Linked DNA regions of Homo sapiens: region 1 is linked to region 2. The links are contacts of gene promoters, found by promoter capture Hi-C in blood cells and fetal thymus (Javierre and others, 2016). All regions are on one chromosome and are shown on one strand. The core of a region is centred on a gene start or on the middle of the fragment in contact, and the rest is flanking DNA. Distances in the headings are between cores, read along the strand shown.

Evidence for each region. The method cuts DNA at HindIII sites, captures the fragments that hold promoters and counts their contacts. A CHiCAGO score of 5 or more calls a contact.
Region 1: a contact is called between a fragment that was not itself captured here and the fragment with the promoter of TMEM147 in region 2, in 1 of 17 cell types (M0 macrophages). The highest score is 5.0, in M0 macrophages.

What each region holds. Positions count from the first base shown.
Region 1 is chr19:35,390,851-35,397,262 of GRCh38, forward strand. No RefSeq gene overlaps it. Among named protein-coding and RNA genes, the nearest start is that of LINC01531, 12 kb to the right of the region's middle. The HindIII fragment of the contact is 543 bases long and covers 1,233-1,775 here.
Region 2 is chr19:35,540,689-35,546,875 of GRCh38, forward strand. It overlaps TMEM147 (transmembrane protein 147), which reads left to right and starts at 4,938. Exons shown (of 7, transcript NM_032635.4): 1 at 4,938-5,128; 2 at 5,200-5,269; 3 at 5,838-5,897; 4 at 5,984-6,120. The coding sequence starts at 5,052. It overlaps GAPDHS (glyceraldehyde-3-phosphate dehydrogenase, spermatogenic), which reads left to right. Exons shown (of 11, transcript NM_014364.5): 5 at 1,631-1,721; 6 at 1,802-1,920; 7 at 2,257-2,338; 8 at 2,652-2,803; 9 at 2,977-3,139; 10 at 4,221-4,318; 11 at 4,410-4,631. The coding sequence ends at 4,482. TMEM147-AS1 (TMEM147 antisense RNA 1) reads right to left here and starts at 5,341. Exons shown (of 4, transcript NR_038396.1): 1 at 5,249-5,341; 2 at 2,223-2,585; 3 at 1,063-1,386; 4 at 50-896. RefSeq lists enhancers at 2,339-2,840, 4,555-5,247 and a silencer at 4,940-5,519. The HindIII fragment of the contact is 5,741 bases long and covers 2,068-6,187 here.

The DNA.
Region 1 (6,412 bases), core at 254-2,753, 150 kb before region 2:
GCCCCAAGAGTGTCCAAACTGAAACAGTCATGGTGCTTTCCTCCCTCCATCATTTGGGCTTATTCAACCTGCAAATGGAAATTCCTTAGAAAATTCCCAAATTGAGAGGAGCCCTTCCTGCTGTCTGGAACCCAGAAAAGACACTCATCCATCCAGACACAGATATCAAATTTCAAAGTCTGTTCTTCCTAGGCAATCAGCAATACATTTGGGGCTGGCAGCAGCAGAGCCAAAGAGAAAAAGATGGAAACCCACCTCCAGCCAAAAAAAGGTCAGACAGCTGTACAGGGGGCTTCTGAAAGTCCCAGTCTGCAGCAGCTGAGCCACAAGCAATGTGTTCCCAGGTAGGGAACCAAAATCTGTTACTGAAATGCCAGGGCTCCAGTCTAGGTCCCGTTGCTCACTGCACAGAAAGCCAATCACCAAGACAATGAGTACTGCCTGGGAAGAAGGCTTTAATTGAGTGCTTTAGCCAAGGAAAATGGGGATCAGTCTCAAATCCATCTCCCTAGTCAACTAAAATCAGGGGGTTATACAGCAGGGAAGAAATGTAACTACATGTGGGAAAACCAGAGTTAGGGAGAGGTAAGGAAGAGGAGTTGGTCAAAGGAATTAGGGAGGGATAAGGAAATCAGGAGGGATGAGGGGTCTGGCATCTCATTGTCTGGATGCAGTGATCTGGTGAGTTTCAATTCGTTGATTTCCTGTGGCAAGAACTCAGATAAGACAAATGCAGGCTTCAAACTTTAAGACCAGGAGGGGGCCAGGCACAGTGGCTCATGCCTGTAATCCCAGCACTTTGGGAGCCCGAGGTGGGTGGATCACGAGGTCAGGAGATCAAGGCCATCCTGGCTAACACAGTGAAACCCTGTCTCTACTAAAAATACAAAAAATTAGCCGGGTTTGGTGGCATGTGCCTGTAGTCCCAGCTACTCAGGAGACTGAGGCAGGAGAATTGCTTGAACCTGGGAAGCAGAGGTTGTAGTGAGCCAAGATCGCACCACTGCACTCCAGCCTGGGCAACAGAGAAAGACTCCATCTAAAAAAAAAAAAAAAAAAAAAAAAAGAAGGGTGAATTTCTACGTTGATCCAAAAGAAGCATCTATGGGACAATCAGGCCAGTTTCATGAGGAATATAAATTGGATCCTGTCATTGCCCTGAATAAAACTTTTCAATGGCTTTCCATTCTGGCCTCCTCCTCACAGCCTTTGAGGCCCTGCCTCTCTCTCCAAGCTTCTCTGGGGCCATCCCCAGAGAAGTGTCACTGACATCGCTCTTCTGGCCTGGACTTCTCTCTGTCCCTTGAGCAGGCCAAGCTCTGAATGTCTGCATGCACCATGCCTTCCACTCTTTACCTGGCTAGTTCCCCACTTCTTCCAAGTTTCTGTCCAATGTCACGCCTTAGAGAGGCTTTCCCTGATCATCCAATATCAAGTAGCCCCCTTCTGATATTATCTCACACTGCGCTCTCATGGTTTGATGTTTGTATGTGTGTGTTCATTTGTTTAACGTGACTCCTACTAGACTGAGAAGCCCATGACAGCAGTCACCACGTCAGTTTTCTTTGTCACTATATACCCAGTGGGTGCCTAAAACCGTGCCTAGCACAGACTGGGCATTTGATGGTGAATAAATGAATGAATGATTTTTTAAAAATATCTCTAATTTTCTACTATTATAAATAATGCTATGAGAACATCCTTTTACATAAAGGCACGTGCACTGTGCATTTCCTACAAGTCGTACTGTTGAATTAAATGATATGTACATGTAAAGCTTTGATAAATATCGATGAATTACCTTCCCCGGCTGAGTCAACCCTTTCTTCCCCAACAGTCTGTAAGAGACCCCATAACTCTGCTGACAAGAGAAAATATTGTATTTTAATTTTTTGAGATGATATTTAGAATTTAGAAACTTAAGTATTAGTCTGGGATTTCCAGAGAAACAGAACCAATAGAGTGTGTGTATGTGTGTCTGTGGGTGTGTCTGTGTGTCTGTGTCTCTGTGCATGTGTCTGTGTGTGTATGTGTGTCTCTGCGGTGTGTGTGTGTCTGTGTGTGTGTCTGTGTATGTATCTGTGTGTGTGTCTCTGTGCATGTCTGTGTGTGTCTCTGTGTGTGTGTACCTCTGTGTGTCTCTGTATGTTTTTGTATGTGTGTCTCTGTCTGTGTCTCTATGTGTGTCTCTGTGTGCATGTCTGTGTGTGTGTTTCTCTCTGTGTGTGTTTTTGTGTGTGTCTGTATATGTGTCTCCATGTGTGTGTCTGTATGTCTCTGTGTGCGTCTGTGTGCATGTATGTTTGTGGCTCTGTGTGTTAATGTGTGTCTCTGTGTATGTGTTTCTGTGTGCATGTTTGTATGTGTTTCTGTGTGTCTCTGTGTGTTTTTGTGGGTCTGTGTGTCTCTCTGTGTGTGTGTATATCTCTCTGTGTCTGTGTGTGTCTCTGTGTTTCTGTGTGCATGTCTGTGTGTGTGTCCATGTGTGTGTCTGTGTGTTACTGTGTGTCTCCGTGTGTGTGTCTGTGTGTTTCTGTGTGTGTGTTTGTGTGTGTGTGTGTGTGTGTCTGCATGTCTGCATGTGTGTATAAAGAGATTTATTTAAGGAATTGGCTCATGTGATTGTGAATGCTTGATGAGCCCAAAATCTGACGGAGGAAGCTGGCTGACTCGAGGCTCAGGAAGAAGTTGTGGTTGAGTCTAAAGAGAGCCTGCTGGTGAGCCAGGAAGACCCACTGCTGCAGACAAAGTCTGAATCCAGCATGCAGGAGAATTCTCTTTTGCATGTGGAGGTCAGCCTTTTGTGCTGTTCAGGCCTTCAGTGACTGGAGGAGTCCCCCACATTTTGGAGGGCAATCTGCTTTGCTCAGAGTCCACCAATGTAAATGTCAATCTCATCCAAAAACACCCTCACAGCAACACCCAGAATAACGTTTCACCAAATATCTGGGCACTGTGGCGTGGCCAAGCCAACACATAAAATTAACCGTCATACTCTGTATTATTTTCATATTAATCTCCCAGATTAAAAATGAGATAGACAATATTTACATATTGTGTAGAGTCATTTGTGTTTCTCCCAATACTTGCTTTGTTCTTATTTGACTTACAGGAGTTCTTTGAATATTGGCTTACAAACCTCATATCAGGTGTATAAGTAGAAGGATAGTGGCCTTTTACTTTGTTGATTGTAATGTTTTTCATAGGTTATCTCTTTTTATGTGCTCAAATTTCTCATCATTTTTTGATGACTTCTACATTATGTCATACTGGGAAAAAGCCTCCTTATTTATAAGACTTTTAAAATTACACAATACCTACACAACATTTATTATTTTTAAAAACATTTTTGATCTTGAATGCACCTGCCTTTTATTCTTGTTACCTGGCTGTAATTCTTCCCAGTGGATAGGCAGCTATCCCAACATAATTTACTGAATAGTCCATCCTTTCCTACAGTGGTTTGAAATGAACCTGGATCACTTAAGTAGGAAGAATCCTCTAAATGTAATCTAAAACAACAAGATTTCATCATTTTTACCCATCCTTACCCATAATGAGGAAAAACATTAAAGATTCAAACATCCAGTGTTGGAGAAGGTGCAGGGGAAGGGATTCTGCCATGTACAGCTGGTGGAAATGTAAATTACCAAACACTATCAGGAAGGTAATATGCAAATATCTATCAACAATTTCAAGGCATACCTCTTTGAACTAGCAATTACATAAATTATAGATCTAAAGATTCATCTAACCAAAATACTCACACCTGTTCAGATAGCTAGCTAGCTAGCTAGATAGAAAGATGATAGATAGATAGATAGATAGGTAATAGATAAATTTGCAGAGGCACTGTTTGTTATACCAAGAGAACTGTAAACTATGTAAATTAATCCTAAATGGTTACATAAATTATAAGACAGTCCTAAAATGAAATACCATGTAGCCATTAGAAAGACTCTAGATTGGTATAGGCTGCCATGAAAAGATCACTAAAGCATATTGTAAGGTGAAAAATAAAATTTCAAAAAAAATATGGAGTATGATTCCATTTATGCTTTTTCTTTTCTTTTTTTGAGATGGAGTCTTGCTCTGTCACCCAGGCTGGAGTGCAGTGGTGCCATCTCGGCCCACTGCAACCTCCGCCTCCTGGGTTCAAGTGATTCTCCTGCCTCAGCCTCACGAGTAGCTGGGACTACAGACGCCTGCCACCATGCCTGGCTTATTTTTGTATTTTTAGTAGAGACAGGGTTTCACCATCTTGGCCAGGCTGGTCTCGAACTCCTGACCTCAGGTGATCCGCCTGCCTCAGCCTCCCAGAGTGCTGGGATTACAGGCGCGAGTCACCGGGCCCAGCCCCAGTTATGCTTTTTTTTTTTTTGAAACGGAGTCTCACTCTGTCGCCCAGGCGGGAGTGCAATGGCGCGATCTCGGCTTACTACAACCTCTGCCTCCTGGGTTCAAGCAATTCTCCTGCCTCAGACTCCCGAGTAGCTGGGATTATGGGTGCACACCACCACACTGGCTAATTTTTTGTATTTTTAGTAGAGACGGGGTTTCACTATATTGCCCAGGCTGGTCTCGAACTCCTGGGCTCAAGTGATCTGCCTGCCTTGGCCTCCCAAAGTGCTAGGATTACAAGTGTGAGGCACTACACCCGGCCCCGTGTATGCATTTTTAAACCAAATATTTGTATACGCACATATATGGACATAAACAAAATAGAGGTTTCCTCTGGGAATGGAGAAGTGTCAGGGAGAAGTGAAACGGCATTTCACATTTTACTTTTGTACCGTTGGGTTTTTTTAAAGGCTATATTCACACATTATAATGCAACTTTTTAAAATTAGAGAAATAATAATGGGAAACCATTCAGCACCTTGATTCTGACCAAGTGAGAGCAGATAAGGCAGCACAGGGATTCAAGCTGCCTGGAGACCTCCAGGGTCACTGTGAGGGTGGCTGGAATCATGGGAATAAATAAATGATTTAACATGCTCAGGCTTCTAAGTGCCCATCCCCGGGGCTGCGGAGGAGCGAGGTGCTTAAACCGTTCCCAAGCCTCAGGCATTGAAAGCAGGAGTGTTTTCTCTAAGAAGGAGGGTGCTGTGCTGTAATTGACCTCTTTGGCATTCAGCGTCTGCACGACATCCAGTGCAGCTCTGGGCCGGCGGAAGAGACCAGGCTGCTTGTGCTGGGAGGGGCCGCTGCCCAAGGACAAGTCCTGTACTCACAGCAACGCTGAATCGCAGTCCTGGGCCATCTGGCCCCGGCCTCATAATCACTCTTCTGTCATGAATACTGAATGAAGGTAAACATACAGTCACAGGGCTGTCTTGGCAGCACCCAACTTTAAACCTGTGGCCTATTTCTAGCTCTCCACTGTGCTGAATTCTGTCAAAAACAAACAAATAACATGCTAAAACTATTTTGTGAACATTACTTATTTCACATTAAGAATGTTGCTCTGTTATTGTTTTTTTTTTTTTTTGAGATGGAGTCCCGCTCTGTCGCCCAGGCTGAAGTGCAGTGGCGCGATCACTGCAACCTCTGCCTCCCGGGTTGAAGCAATTCTCCTGCATCAGCCTCCCGAGTAGCTAAGATTACAGGTGTGAGCCACCACGCCCGGCTAATTGTTGTATTTTTGGTAGAGACAGGGTTTTGCCATCTTGGCTAGGCTGGTCTCGAACTGCTGACCTCAGGTGACCCGCCCACCTCGGCCTCCCAGAGTGCTGGGATTATAGGCGTGAACCACTGCAACCAGCCAACAGCATGGTTTTGGTCACCTCAAATGAGGACACGAATATATAAATCTCACGGTTTTGGTATTGCATCATATTTTTCATACACTGGGAAACAAAAAATGGAAGAGGTGTAGGCTGTCCTGACCTCTGAAAGGCCCTGAGGGGACAGTGGCCATCTTTTGGTTTCCTGGCTTCTGAACCCCTTCTGTGTTTAGGGAACTGGCCAAGTATGAGCCTTGTGAGGAGGCAGAGCCCATCTCCCACTAGAGAAGCTACTGATGCAGGGACCTTGTTTTCCAAGCATCCCTGATGCCTGCGTTTAGCCAATCAGGTGCACCTGCCCCAAATTCTGAATCTGAGGCTAATGGCACAAAGGAGGAAAAGCAGAAAATTATTTCTGGCAGTGGCAGTAGTGGTGGCAGACAGAATGTGGCTCTAGGTCCTAGTGTGCGGTGGCGGGGGGACTCCCACGTCCTTCCTGGACTGAGTTAATGGCATGACTTTTAATGTGGCCCTGGCTGTGCAGCTTCCTTGATTCTAGAAGCCTGGTTTTCCAGCCTTCCTGGCACATCTCTGAGCTACCCAATATCTTATCATTAAATCCCTAAATGAGCCAGAGTTGGTCTCTGTTGCTGCAATTAACAGCGATTGCTGAGACACGAGTCCAG
Region 2 (6,187 bases), core at 3,688-6,187:
CTGACAGCAGTAAAAAAATGCAAAAAATGACAGCGGTAGCACTTCCTCATCGGGTTGTGAAGGTTACATGAGTTTAATGCAGGTAAGGCACTTAGAATATGGGCACAGGACAGGTGTTCAGTAAACACGTATAAAATGGCTAACTAAAAAAAAAACACGAGGCCAGGTGCAGAGGCTCATGCCTGTCATCCCAGCACTTTGGGAGGCTGAAGTGGGGATCACCTGAGGTCAGGAGTTTGAGACCAGCCTGGCCAACAGAGCAAACCCCGTCACCACTAAAAATACAAAAAACAACAACAATAAAAAACTAGCCAGGTGTGGTAGCGCATGCCTGTAACCCCAACTACTCGGGAGGCGGAGGCAGGAGAATCGCTTGAACCCGGAAGGTGGAGGTTGCAGTGAGCCAAAATCGTGCCACTGCACTCCAGCCTGAGTGACAGAGTGAGACTCTGTCTCAAAAACAAAACAAAACAAAACAAAGAAAACCCATGAGGCCAGGCACGGTGGCTCACACCTGTAATCCCAGCACTGTGGGAGGTCAAGGATCACTTGAGCCCAGGGGTTCTAAAGCACCCTGGGCAACAAAAGTGAGACCCCATCTCTACAAAAAAATTTAAAAATTAGCTTGGCATGGTGGTGTGCGCCTGTAGTCCCAGCTACTCGGGAGGCCAAGGCAGGAGGATGGCCGGAGCCAGGAAGATCAAGGCTGCAGTGAGCTCTGATTGCACCACTGCACTCCAGCCTGGGCGACAGAGGAAGACCCTGTCTCAAAACAAACAAACCCCACAAACATTGATTGAACCCCCCATTGAGGGGAGCAGGCTCAATGGCAAAGGAAACAGACCGACACTGGCCAAGAATCACAGAAGCAAAGCACCCGGTTACTCATGATAAACCTGGGAAGGAAGAAAGTGGAACAGTTTATTCACTTAATGCTTGTTTGCTAAAGCCAAGTAGAAAACGGCAATACTAGATGTTTAGTGTGCTTCAAATACAAATGTTTGTCAAAATACCAAGTAAAAACATAAATTTATAAAACAGGAAACCAGAAACCTCCCTTACCTTTCCAATGTAAACCATGAGCCACTGCTGCCCCAAGGCTGCCTCAGGCTTCAGGAGTCCTCCAGGAGCTTTTTCTTTAATGCAGTGTCTGTTTTCAGGGACCCTCCTGGCCTTTGGCAGCCAGCTTCCTATTGCAGGAGCTGAGGGTCTAGGAGGGTTCATGGCGAGGTTGTCAGAGCTGGGAAGCAGAAAGCAGCCGGGCAGGCCTCACAGTCACAGAGTCCACGTCCCGGGCAGCATATGGAGAAAGGGTCTGGGCTGGCTGACAGCAGTCAGCATTGGCGCCTCTGAGGAGGTTGAGGGCTGAGTTGGGGAGGTCACCACCTGTACCCAGGCATAACAGGGGTGGTGCAATCAGCAAAGGGAAAGTGGTCTGAAGTGGGGCAGTGGTGAAAAGCTAGGCCAGCGGGGTGGAGCCCATCTGGAACAAGTAGGTGTGTGGGGTAGGGGACGCAGGTGGTTGCAGGTGGGCCGGTACCTGCTCAGCCTGTCAAATGGTGAAAGCCATGGACTATGAAGGTGGGGCTCAAGCAGGGGAGACTGACTCAGCCCTGCCACTTCCCCACAGCAAAGAGCCCAAACAGATCCCCTGGAGGGCTGTCGGGAGCCCCTACGTGGTGGAGTCCACAGGCGTGTACCTCTCCATACAGGCAGCTTCGGTAAGCTGGGGAGAGGTGCCCAGGGCTAGCTGGGGGGATGATGGTGCCAGAAGCCCCTGACACCTGCGCTTCCTCCCCAGGACCACATCTCTGCAGGTGCTCAACGTGTGGTCATCTCCGCGCCCTCACCGGATGCACCAATGTTCGTCATGGGTGTCAATGAAAATGACTATAACCCTGGCTCCATGAACATTGTGAGGTAATGTGGGCAGTGACATCCTGCAATGTGTGGAAGGGAGGGTAGACTCGTCCTCCCCACCCTCAGCCCCACTGGATTCCTGGTCGCTTGGCTTCTGCTTCTCCTTCCCGAAACTATCTGCTAAAAACGCATGACTTCCAGAGGACAAGCTTGGGGAGCCTCCCCAGCTGCACCTCAGTGCCTCCTTCAGTCTGACAGTGTCCCCACAGATCCCTCTCACCCTCATCCTGACGTTTCATAAAACCAAGTCTGCGTGCATACCCCAAGAGGGGTAAGGGTGGAGGGGTGGCTCTGCGACTCACCTCACAGTGTCCGTGCACACCTTGGCTGTTTCAGCAACGCGTCCTGCACCACCAACTGTTTGGCTCCCCTCGCCAAAGTCATCCACGAGCGATTTGGGATCGTGGAAGGGTTGATGGTGAGTTGAGGATGAGGGGCTGGGGCAGGAAGGATGGCAGGGAAACCCAACTTCTTCCCGGGCCTTGCTTACTGTATGGAGTTAAGAGGGAGAGACTGGTTTCGGGAGGAGAGGCCCACCAGTGCAGAAGTCACTTAAAACACTGTGCAACCCTCAGGCAAGGCTGGACCCTGGCCTGCACACATCCCCTCCTGTGGTCTGTGGTGGTGGCCCCACCAGCCTCCACACCTAGGCCACCAACTTAGTCCTGGAAAAAAGAGGCATGGGAGCTTAGGAGCATGAAGGCCTCATCTTGGTCCTTCTCTTCCCCAAGACCACAGTCCATTCCTACACGGCCACCCAGAAGACAGTGGACGGGCCATCAAGGAAGGCCTGGCGAGATGGGCGGGGTGCCCACCAGAACATCATCCCAGCCTCCACTGGGGCTGCGAAAGCTGTGACCAAAGTCATCCCAGAGCTCAAAGGGTATGAGGACAAGAAGCTGCAACCAGGGTGGGGGCATACGCCAGGAGGACTGGACTGGCCCGGCCCTCAGTCCTTAAGAGGAAAGCAGGGGCCTGGCCCAGCCACAGGGAAAGGGGGAATGGAGGGCAACGTCCCTAAGTTCTGACTCCTGTTCCTCATGGGGGATTCTCCAGGAAGCTGACAGGGATGGCGTTCCGGGTACCAACCCCGGATGTGTCTGTCGTGGACCTGACCTGCCGCCTCGCCCAGCCTGCCCCCTACTCAGCCATCAAGGAGGCTGTAAAAGCAGCAGCCAAGGGGCCCATGGCTGGCATCCTTGCCTACACCGAGGATGAGGTAGGGGCTGAGGAGAGGAGACCCTGGGAGGAGCCCTCTGGGAAGGGACATGATTTCCACTTGCCAGGGAGCTGCTCTCAATGTGCCAAGTCAGAAACTGCAGGGCAGGAAGGGAGATCTCCCTGCCTCAGGGCCTTTGCACTTGCTGTTCCTTTAGTCTGGAATGCTTCCCTTGCCAGGTGACCATACAGTCTGTCCTTACTTCCTCCAAGTCTCTGGAGGAACCTCCCTCTTCAGCAAGGCACCCCCTCAAAATATGTTCTTTTTGTGGCCATATTCCTCACCTGAAATTTCATTTCATAGTCACTGTTGGCCCCAGTGGTGTGTGCACTCCAAGAAAACAGGGATTTAGGGGCTGCCTTTTCACTTTTGTGGCTCCAACCTGGCATACAGCAGGTGACTAATACATGCTTAGTGAACAAAAGACAACAGCTCCCATTTTTTTCAATACTTGCTCAGGGCCAGGCCATGGCCAGATGCCTTCTCTGTGAGGAGTGGATGCCATGGTCATGGTGGACCCCTGTACATCCACCTTGGTGCTGTCTCCCTGCATTAACTCCTGCAGGTCCACTTTCCCACAGTCACTGGGATCTTTTGTTTTAATGGAATCACATTGCATCACCCGTTTTCAGGATTGAAAACACTCCTGTGGCCTTTCATGACACTAGGGCTAAAACCCTCAGGTCCTCCCTTCCTGCAGCTCCTTCTACCTCAGACACTGTGCTGAGGGCCCCAGCCGGTCAGATCTTTCTAGTCATCTAGACCCAGGCTCATGGCCACCCCTCAGAGAGGCCCTCCATGCTGGCCCATTCCAAACGCTTGCATTATTCCTAGGAAAGGGATGTACTGGTACAGCATGAGGGTGTTTGTGACCTGTGCCCTTTGGCCAGACCCTGACACAGTGCCTTGGTCATACCCTGCACTTGGTCATACCCTCCAGTCCAGAGACTGGACACAGTAGGGCTACATCAAATATTATAGATGAATGCATGGATGGGCGATAGAGTTAAGAGTCGGGGCCTCAGCTCCTGGAGGTCCTTGCTCTGCCGGACACACTTATCTTTGAAATTCTGACTTCCAGGTCGTCTCTACGGACTTCCTCGGTGATACCCACTCGTCCATCTTCGATGCTAAGGCCGGCATTGCGCTCAATGACAATTTCGTGAAGCTCATTTCATGGTAAGGGGGAAGGAGCTGGAGACTTAGAGGGAGGGGAACTAAGGGGTGGTCGGAAGGAACCCCCTTGAACCTCCCGACCCCTCCTCCACAGGTACGACAACGAATATGGCTACAGTCACCGGGTGGTCGACCTCCTCCGCTACATGTTCAGCCGAGACAAGTGAAACGGGAAGGTCCTTTCTTTCCTTCCCAGGGGCCGGGGCCGGAACATGTGCCTCCCGTTCCAGCATCTGGCTGCCCGGGGGAGGAAGGACACCCGGGGCGGGCGCCCCACGCCGATGGGTCCATGGTGAAATAAAAAACAGTGCTCACGGCTGCGTCCCGTATCTCTGCGCCGGTCAGGGCGGGTTCTGATCCGGGTTTGAGGCCCGCCCCACCCTTACTCGATCGCCTGCGCCCACGGGCGAGGGGTCGCGCTCGACTCCAAGCCGGGTTCCACTTCAGGAGACCGGGACCGCGATGGCAGCGGTAGAGGCCCCGCATGGCCGGAAGTCACTCCCCAAAGCGCTGGGCCGGCAGCGGTGGGACCCAGGGCCGGCCACGGGCTCTCTGACGTCACTGGGCGCGACGCCCCGCGCCGGGACTACTGCTCCCAGAAGGTCGCGCGCGGGCCCCCGCCAGTCAGGTGGGTGCCAGGCCCTGGCCGTGGCGAAAGAGCCGGCGGAGCCGGAGACCCGCTCCCGGAGACGCCGCCTCGCGATCCCCGCGCGGGCGGGACCGGGCGGCCGGCATCATGACCCTGTTTCACTTCGGGAACTGCTTCGCTCTTGCCTACTTCCCCTACTTCATCACCTACAAGTGCAGCGGCCTGTGAGTGCGGGAAGGGCGCGGGGCGGAGAGGGCGCGGGGCCCGGGCCGACCCTCACCTCCCGCTTCTCCAGGTCCGAGTACAACGCCTTCTGGAAATGCGTCCAGGCTGGAGTCACCTACCTCTTTGTCCAACTCTGCAAGGTGAGGGCCACCGGGAAGCCACGTGTTCTGGCCCCCAGGCTCTGCAGACCCAGGGACCCGCCCCCGTTGCCTATCCGCGCCCCCGCCGCCCCACGGTGGGACCGCCCTCGGGACTCCGCACTGGGAGGCGTCAGGATACCTAGAGAGGATGGACTTTAAAGAGGGCACGACCTGAGAAGAGACCTAGAAGCAACTTTTGCGTAGCACTTAGTAAAACTGAGAAAACCTCAGTAGTGTGGTTGGCTAACAGGTTTTTTTTGGTGCGGTTAAGAGTGATCACTGATTCCGTACGTGCTGCTAACACTGCCCAAGGAGCAGCACCTTCAGACCTGACTCAGATGCCCTGTGATCACCCAGAACTCAAACTTCCAGCCCCCTCGGGGACCCGGGGACCTATCCTCTATCTCCCCGATTCCTGTAATTTTGCCACCATCTGGTGGTTCCTCTTCCAGATGGGCCCCCAGAACCTGTCCTGCCCTCTTCCTACCCACGAACTTCCCACAAATCCCACGTGGTTTATCTTGATCCCCTCACCTTGAAGTGACCTCTTTCTGCTTTCTGTTCTCAGATGCTGTTCTTGGCCACTTTCTTTCCCACCTGGGAAGGCGGCATCTATGACTTCATTGGGGTGAGAGGGGCCAGGGAAGGGAAGGGAGTTCAGGAATGGGGCTCCCTGTCCCCCTGTGCTTACTTAAGCCTCAACCTGACCCGCAGGAGTTCATGAAGGCCAGCGTGGATGTGGCAGACCTGATAGGTCTAAACCTTGTCATGTCCCGGAATGCCGGCAAGGGAGAGTACAAGATCATGGTTGCTGCCCTGGGCTGGGCCACTGCTGAGCTTATTATGTCCCGGTGCGTACAGCAGCCTGGAGCCCAGACCCCTGAGAAGGGACACCTGGGTTCCACGGGGGTGCTGGAG